Regions from separate parts of the Homo sapiens genome. Here regions 1 and 3 are each linked to region 2. Evidence: promoter capture Hi-C in 16 types of primary human blood cells and fetal thymus (Javierre and others, 2016). All regions are on one chromosome and are shown on one strand. Each heading gives the region's core, a stretch centred on a gene start or on the middle of the fragment in contact. The rest is flanking DNA. Distances are from core to core; before and after follow the strand shown.

Evidence for each region. The method cuts DNA at HindIII sites, captures the fragments that hold promoters and counts their contacts. A CHiCAGO score of 5 or more calls a contact.
Region 1: a contact is called between the fragment with the promoter of UGT1A6 here and the fragment with the promoter of TRPM8 in region 2, in 3 of 17 cell types (M2 macrophages, M1 macrophages and endothelial precursors). The highest score is 6.7, in M2 macrophages.
Region 3: a contact is called between the fragment with the promoter of UGT1A3 here and the fragment with the promoter of TRPM8 in region 2, in 4 of 17 cell types (endothelial precursors, neutrophils, total CD8 T cells and 1 more). The highest score is 8.4, in endothelial precursors.

The regions. Positions count from the first base shown.
Region 1 is chr2:233,691,544-233,694,256 of GRCh38, forward strand. It overlaps UGT1A6 (UDP glucuronosyltransferase family 1 member A6), which reads left to right and starts at 1,347. Exons shown (of 5, transcript NM_001072.4): 1 at 1,347-2,322. The coding sequence starts at 1,462. All of the region lies in intron 1 of UGT1A8 (UDP glucuronosyltransferase family 1 member A8), which reads left to right. The region is part of intron 1 of UGT1A10 (UDP glucuronosyltransferase family 1 member A10); the gene reads left to right. The region is part of intron 1 of UGT1A9 (UDP glucuronosyltransferase family 1 member A9); the gene reads left to right. It also overlaps UGT1A7 and UGT1A. RefSeq lists enhancers at 1-92, 93-699. The HindIII fragment of the contact is 26,798 bases long and covers 1-2,713 here.
Region 2 is chr2:233,915,837-233,918,865 of GRCh38, forward strand. It overlaps TRPM8 (transient receptor potential cation channel subfamily M member 8), which reads left to right and starts at 1,537. Exons shown (of 26, transcript NM_024080.5): 1 at 1,537-1,596. The HindIII fragment of the contact is 1,520 bases long and covers 1,516-3,029 here.
Region 3 is chr2:233,727,580-233,730,360 of GRCh38, forward strand. It overlaps UGT1A3 (UDP glucuronosyltransferase family 1 member A3), which reads left to right and starts at 1,463. Exons shown (of 5, transcript NM_019093.4): 1 at 1,463-2,414. The coding sequence starts at 1,548. The region is part of intron 1 of UGT1A8 (UDP glucuronosyltransferase family 1 member A8); the gene reads left to right. All of the region lies in intron 1 of UGT1A10 (UDP glucuronosyltransferase family 1 member A10), which reads left to right. All of the region lies in intron 1 of UGT1A9 (UDP glucuronosyltransferase family 1 member A9), which reads left to right. It also overlaps UGT1A7, UGT1A6, UGT1A5, UGT1A4 and UGT1A. The HindIII fragment of the contact is 4,368 bases long and covers 1-2,781 here.

The DNA of each region.
Region 1 (2,713 bases), core at 97-2,596, 220 kb before region 2:
TTCTAGTAATTCAAGGTACCACCTCTCACTGGGACAGCCTAGTTTCTACACAGGTCTTGCTCTGGGACCGCCCTCAGCAGTGTGGTTAGCAGGCAGGGCCAGTGTGACCCTCCCTTTCTGGGCCTCAGTTGAGAAACCTGAAGCTCAGGAGAGGAGTCACTCCCCTGGCAGATGGGTGGCTGGGCCAGAAGCAGATACCAGGCTTTCTGACTCCTGCTCTAGGATTCTCACCACGTACTGGCTAGACTTATACTTCTCAAATCTTAATTTCCTAAAGGCAAGTAACAGTTTGAATGTTGTTATATTGTGATGTATAATAAGAAATATATGTTTGTCTTTGTTTCCTGGACACAGCTCCTGAAACCATAAGTGGTGGGAGCGATAAACGTGAACAAAGAATCTTTTGTTATTCAAAACAGATCCCTTTCGATCACACCTAAGTTTATGTAAAGGAGATGTAAAGTCTCTAAGGATGAGGGCTAGTTGCCAGGGAACAAAACCCTTGCGATTAGAGGGAAGAAAGGAGAGAGAGATTGAAGATTGATTTGATCACCGATGGGCAACAATCTAATCAATCATGCCTACTATGTATGGAAGCCTACATAAAAACTCAGAAGGGCAGGGTTCAGAGAGCTTTCAGGTTGCTGAAGGTGTGGAGGGTGGGGCACCCAGAGATGGCAGATGGGGCTCCATGGCCATACCCCCATATCTTGTTCTTTGTACTTTTTCCTCTGGCTATTCATCCGTATTGTTTGCAATATCCTTTGTAATAAACCAAACCTAGTAAATAAACTGTTTTCTTCAGTTCTGTGAGCCATTCTAGCAAATGATTGACTCCAAGAAAGAGGGTGTGTGAACCTCTGATTTTTGCCAAGTCAGACAGAAGTTGTGGGTAACCTGGGGACCTACTACTTGCAATTGGTGTCTGAAGTGAGGGCAGTCTTGTAGGACTGAGCCCTTAACCTGTGGGGTCCGTGCTAACTCAGAATTCAGTTCAGAATGGAATTGAATTGTAGGATACCCAGCTGGTGTTAGAGAATAGGTCCGTGTGCAAGAAAAATTCCCGCACATCATGGACATAACAGACAACGTCAATGATGAGGAATCCAGCAAGTTCGGGATAGAGAATTGGCAGGGGGTCCTCAGGGGTCTCTCCAAGTCATCTTCAAAGTGTTGCTATAACTTTTCAGAGAGGGAGAAGCAGACTTGTGGAGCTGAAGAGAAACACCCAGAAGCTCAGGTGAAAGCTGACACGGCCATAGTTGGTTCATATTAACCATGTGATTAAAATGGTTAAATATTAATTTGGGTTCTTACATATCAAAGGGTAAAATTCAGAGCAAGGGAGAGGTAGACAGGACCTGTGAAAAGCAGTGGTTAGTTTAGGGAAAATACCTAGGAGCCCTGTGATTTGGAGAGTGAAAACTCTTTATTACCGTTGTTACTTTAACTCTTTCCAGGATGGCCTGCCTCCTTCGCTCATTTCAGAGAATTTCTGCAGGGGTTTTCTTCTTAGCACTTTGGGGCATGGTTGTAGGTGACAAGCTGCTGGTGGTCCCTCAGGACGGAAGCCACTGGCTTAGTATGAAGGATATAGTTGAGGTTCTCAGTGACCGGGGTCATGAGATTGTAGTGGTGGTGCCTGAAGTTAATTTGCTTTTGAAAGAATCCAAATACTACACAAGAAAAATCTATCCAGTGCCGTATGACCAAGAAGAGCTGAAGAACCGTTACCAATCATTTGGAAACAATCACTTTGCTGAGCGATCATTCCTAACTGCTCCTCAGACAGAGTACAGGAATAACATGATTGTTATTGGCCTGTACTTCATCAACTGCCAGAGCCTCCTGCAGGACAGGGACACCCTGAACTTCTTTAAGGAGAGCAAGTTTGATGCTCTTTTCACAGACCCAGCCTTACCCTGTGGGGTGATCCTGGCTGAGTATTTGGGCCTACCATCTGTGTACCTCTTCAGGGGTTTTCCGTGTTCCCTGGAGCATACATTCAGCAGAAGCCCAGACCCTGTGTCCTACATTCCCAGGTGCTACACAAAGTTTTCAGACCACATGACTTTTTCCCAACGAGTGGCCAACTTCCTTGTTAATTTGTTGGAGCCCTATCTATTTTATTGTCTGTTTTCAAAGTATGAAGAACTCGCATCAGCTGTCCTCAAGAGAGATGTGGATATAATCACCTTATATCAGAAGGTCTCTGTTTGGCTGTTAAGATATGACTTTGTGCTTGAATATCCTAGGCCGGTCATGCCCAACATGGTCTTCATTGGAGGTATCAACTGTAAGAAGAGGAAAGACTTGTCTCAGGTTGGTGGGTTTATTTCTTTTGGACTGCCTTGTTTCTTCCAGGCTCTGTCCTCCCTCACTCATTTGGCTCCTTGAGCCGACTGTCCCTTGGAGGATTTCCTGGAGAAACGGTGGGGGGAAGTGATACCCGGCTCGGAGCAGCGGGAACACATAGGAGACCTGAGGCTGAAGTGATACAGAGGCATTCGGATGAAGACAGGGCTCATGCTTGGCAAGAGTAGGAGATTTGCTTAGTTGGATAATCTGGGACAGTCACATACTCATTGAATGAGCCTTAGAAATGTCCCAGTTCAAACAGAGGTGAAGGCTTGACTAAGGGAACAGGTCCAGGTTAAAATCCATTTTCCCAACTCTGTCCCATGCTTTGTCTCTGGACCTTGAGCCAGGGACC
Region 2 (3,029 bases), core at 287-2,786:
TGGAGTGCAGTGGCATGATCTCGGCTCACTGCAACCTCCACCTCCCAGGTTCAAGGGATTCTCATGTCTCAGCCTCCTGAGTAGCTGGGATTACAGGCACGTGCCACCACACCTGGCTAATTTTTGTATTTTTAGTAGAGACAGGGTTTTGCCATGTTGCCCAGGCTGGTCTTGAACCCCTGACATCAAGCAATCGGCCCGCCTCAGCCTCCCAAAGTGCTGGGATTACAGGCATGAGCCACTGCACCCAGCTGGCTCAATATTTCTAACAGCTAAAAAGCTCATTTTGCTGCTCCGCTCCTCAGATGGACTTGCTCCCCTGTGCAGTGCTATATATGTGCTTGGGGACCATGCTGGGTATGGGAGTTTTTAGTCCTAGGACCCATATTTAGAGTAATTCTGAGATTTCTCTGATTCTCTCTCTCTATTTCTAGCTGGATCTCTTCTCTCACGGGTCCTCATTCAAATCTATCATTTCCAGTTTTCCACAGCCCCCACCCTTCCCTACTTACTACCTAACACTTGGCTGCTCCCTTCATCTTTATGACCTGTCTGAGCCTTGGAATATTTGAGTTTGAGACCTCTGTCTGGAGTCTTTTGTCTCTCTTTGTTAAGGGGGTTTTCTTCTTGAATTGAACATGCTTTCTGCAGGAGTTATCACTACAACCCTATCCTTCCTTTCAGACCTTGCTCAAATCTCTCTGCCTTTGCAAAAAACCCCTTCACACTCCTTCTCTTTCATCTCTAACCTTTTTGCAAGTGTATGTCTTGTGCAATCAGTTCCTGAAATACACTATCCTATTTGTATTTCTCTATGACATATGCTTCATATGAAAATAAAATAGAAATAATGGCCAAAACAGAGGAACATTAGTTATAATATAACTGTTATGTTTGTGGCACGTGATTTAAGTAAAATGACCGAAAGTTGCCCACTGACAATTGTTACTTATTTCTTCGAGGAGAGCTCTTCCAAAGTGTAGTTTAAAGGGGACAGGAAATAGCTGTAAATTAATGAAGCTGGATTTGCTCACCTCCATGATGCCCTCTTGCCTGGCCCAATACTGCATTTAGTTGGTATGAGGAAAGTTCACAAAATCTGCAAAAAAGCAATGTTGGTTAAATTTCCTCTATTTAATAATTTTTTTCCTAATCTTAATTAAGAGCTTTTAATTTATTAATTAATCTTGTCATCACTTTCTATAATGAGCATTTCCCATTTTATTTGTGGTTTTTAAAATGTGCCATTAATTGCAGAAATTAAGTATTAGTATGATTTCATACTATGGTGTTATTGTCAAGCTAAGAGCAGGAATTTGGTATCATTTCTTTATTAGCATTTAAAATACCATGTTCACTAATTATCCATTCCCTACTCGTATTCCACTGCTAAATTGCTGCTATGCTTGGAGGCTTTAGGAGTCTTCTTGCAATTTCAGCGGCTTAAGTTTTTTGTTCCTCTGCTTAAAAGAACCTCAGAGAAGAAGGCGGGGCTAAGAAGATTCCAGTTATAAAAGCTTTCCTCCTCCTGTGGGGAGAGACCAGCAGGATCCTTGGGTGAAAGAAAATCCTGCTTGACAAAAACCGTCACTTAGGGTATGTCATCAACTTTTGCTTTTTGCTTCTCCTTAAATGTTGCCATTGCTGTAACTTGTAGAATAGTACGAGTTTGTGTCTCTGGGAGGGGCATCATTTAGTTTTTCTATGAAGATTTGAAACTAAAGGAAGACAAAAATTTAAATTCCTCAAAGTGTTGTGGGCATAAGCAAATGCGGGTTCACAGATATATCTAATCCTCACTTAGATTTATTTAGAAATGTAGAATTATTTGCTGAATTTTTGAATGACTTTAAATATAATTACAGTTTTCTGTTTCTGATTGAAGGAGTTAGAAACTCCCTAAATGAGCTTTAATGAAAAATTCACTGGCATCTGAACTCTGCAACTGACTATCTGAAGCAATCCTATTGGGAACATAATAAAACAAGTTTTTTCTTGAATCAAGACTATGGTGAAATGTAAATTAACATCAAGAAATAATGCATTCAAATAGTAAATATTCTTTGATAATGAAAGGAGCGGGTATATTTAGCTTGTTTTTACATACTGTGTTTCCTTCCGTTCTTCCAGCCTGTTGAAACAGGCTCATCATTTGTATTATTTATAAGCAAGAGAGAAACACTGAAGGGCTGGATGAATAATTAAAGGTTTTATTTCCATTTAATTTTCAATCCATTATTGCCAGTGCTGACTTTTTCAGTGTTAGGATTCTTGAGCTGAACATAAGGAAATGGTTATTCCTTAAGACTATTCTATATGTGCTAATACAAAGATACTGATCATGAGAGAAGTTTTAGCTTGTCAAAATCTTGACAGTGCAAAGGACTTACTTCCAAGGTTGTGACTTTGGATGCATATTTATTTATAATTTGGAAAAAAGCTGTTTATTATTATTTATTAATAAGATATTTATAATTATATTACAAATAATATAATTGTTATAGAAATAATATAATTACATTATAAATTATAATTACATTACAATTTATAATAATAATTATCACTATCTTTGTTTTGCCTAAGAACTGATATCATTCTTGGCACCTGTGAAGACAGTAGGGGTCCAGGCTGCATAGGGACCCCTGCTTTTCCTCTTATTCTAAGAGGGTCTCAGCAAATAGCATCTTGGAGCATCACCTGCTGCCTGTATCTACCTCCTGTTTCTCACTTCTACTTTTTGGAGCAGGATACCTTGGGGTCAATGACTTCGGGAGCCTCCACTGGCTTTTGCTATTTTCCTAGTTTTCATCCATCTATTCAAACTGAAAAAAATTTGGCTGATAGAGGCAATTAGAAAAACAGGATAATGCCTACAACAAAATAAATCTCAGCTCTCTCCTGGTGGTGACTGAGACATGGAGGCACAGATGCCTAGTGACCTTTTCAGGTATTGTAACCCTTGTATGCACCCCTGCCATGCCCCTGCCAAAATAAGAGTGGAGGAGATCTCTCTGGATGGTGTCATTTAT
Region 3 (2,781 bases), core at 213-2,712, 190 kb before region 2:
TATAGTTTTAAGGGGGTTGGAGGAATAGTTCAGAGGCTGAGAGGTTGCACCCACAGCTGAGAATCCCTTTCTAGTGCTCTATGTCCTTACAAATTCCCAGGAATCATCCTCTACTGGACAGTTCCCAAAGCCCTTGCAGACCTTCCTTTTCTGTGCCATCCTGCGTGTGCTGCCCTTGAGCTGGGTGTCCCCCAGTAGACGCTTCCATTCACTGCCTGTCCCATGGGTTCTGTCCAAAGGTGGAATCTGTTATCAATGTGGAGTAATTTCCTCCCTAAGGGAAGCCTCAGCCTCACCAGCAATGGCAGACACGGCCAGGCAAGAAGACACAGGGGCAGTGAGATAGAAAGTGCACACCCCAGACAGCCTGCCCACATCATCCTGAGGTGACCAGGACAAGGTGGCATCAGCAATCTTGTGAGCACAGCACATGTGGGAGTGACTTTCTGGAGTAGGATAAGCCTCATTGGGCTTGAGGCCCTTGTGAGTGCTCAGGGTCTCTCCTTTAGAAAGGCACATATTTAATTCTCCATCTTGAAATTTGGACTAGGGCCCCCACAAATTGTGCAGCCCATTCTGTTCTGGAGGAACCATTCTTATCAGAACTTGGTGCTGGATTGACTTGGAGAAGAGCCTGACCATAATCTTCAGGATGAAATAAAGGCCTGGATGACTGAAATAAAGACTGGAGCCTTCGGCATTCAGAAGAGGAATTCAGACTGTGCAAGATCTGAGGCCAGGCTCCAGCTCCCCCAGTCCCTTGGTGAGCAGGAGCTCCCTGAACCCACCATGGGTCTTTGCTAGGGTTGTCTTGCCCATGTGTGCTTTAGATAGCAGCACCTCTTCTTCCATGGTGTATATGGAGAATCCTCAACAAAGTCTTCCCAAGAATCTGATCATCACATCTTGAGCTCAGCCTCCCTGCAGCTTTTTCTATATTGACAGCCACTTCAGAGAGAGTCCTCTCTGATCCTTACAAGAAATATCCTGGTGCGAAAAACGACCAAAACCACATAGCCAGCCTCCACGCTGTTCAGAGAAAGCTGGCTTAGCAATGTTGTATGGTTTTTGGATGCGCTGCGTTACTCATACATGAGAAGAAAGTTTCAAGGGTTAGCAAATAGGGTCACATCCAGCAGAGAGCATATGACTGGGGGCTAGGGCAATGGTGACTCCTCAGACCTCAGCTGCTGCCTGATAAACATGGTTAACAGAGAAGTAGGAGACAGTGACATGAAATGGGTGTTCACAGCCTTGTGTTGGGAATTGGATGAGAAACAAGAGCTTGAACTTGGATGTTCCCCAGAGTGAGCACAGGGTCAGACGTGTTTTTCAAGATAGTCATGATCGGTCTTTTCCAGGGTGGGGCCCACAGTGAAAAACAGTGATAGATTAATGGTTAATAATTAACTAGAGGAGGGCACTCTGTCTTCCAATTACACGTTGATTTGCTAAGTGGCTCAGTGACAAGGTAATTAAGATGAAGAAAGCAAATGTAGCAGGCACAGCGTGGGGTGGACAGTCAGCTGTCCGTGTCTTCTGCTGAGATGGCCACAGGACTCCAGGTTCCCCTGCCGTGGCTGGCCACAGGACTGCTGCTTCTCCTCAGTGTCCAGCCCTGGGCTGAGAGTGGAAAGGTGTTGGTGGTGCCCATTGATGGCAGCCACTGGCTCAGCATGCGGGAGGTCTTGCGGGAGCTCCATGCCAGAGGCCACCAGGCAGTGGTCCTCACCCCAGAGGTGAATATGCACATCAAAGAAGAGAACTTTTTCACCCTGACAACCTATGCCATTTCGTGGACCCAGGATGAATTTGATCGCCATGTGCTGGGCCACACTCAACTGTACTTTGAAACAGAACATTTTCTGAAGAAATTTTTCAGAAGTATGGCAATGTTGAACAATATGTCTTTGGTCTATCATAGGTCTTGTGTGGAGCTACTACATAATGAGGCCCTGATCAGGCACCTGAATGCTACTTCCTTTGATGTGGTTTTAACAGACCCCGTTAACCTCTGCGCGGCAGTGCTGGCTAAGTACCTGTCGATTCCTACTGTGTTTTTTTTGAGGAACATTCCATGTGATTTAGACTTTAAGGGCACACAGTGTCCAAACCCTTCCTCCTATATTCCTAGATTACTAACAACCAATTCAGACCACATGACATTCATGCAAAGGGTCAAGAACATGCTCTACCCTCTGGCCCTGTCCTACATTTGCCATGCTTTTTCTGCTCCTTATGCAAGCCTTGCCTCTGAGCTTTTTCAGAGAGAGGTGTCAGTGGTGGATATTCTCAGTCATGCATCTGTGTGGCTGTTCCGAGGGGACTTTGTGATGGACTACCCCAGGCCAATCATGCCCAACATGGTCTTCATTGGGGGCATCAACTGTGCCAACAGGAAGCCACTATCTCAGGTCTGTATTGGTGCCTTCATCCAATCAATGTTCCAGGCAAAACACTTTTTAAAAAAATGTATTTATTTAAAATTGCTTCCATATTTACTTATCTTTCCAAATATTTCATTTCTGCTTCTCCTTGTCATAATAGCCTTCAGTGAGATAAACTGTTAAGGGGTCTCTAGTAGCGTATTTCAGGTTTTAAATGGTCACTGAGAGGAAGAGGAAGTAGACACGAATGTTTGTAAAAGGATGGACAAGGACTGGTGTGACTCATAGAGACTGTTGGTTTGTAAAGGCACCATCTTCATGGTTGTGCATGTCCTTCAGCTTGGCAGGAACAGGGACACTACGTTTGGAACTGATCCATCCTGGATTTTTTGCT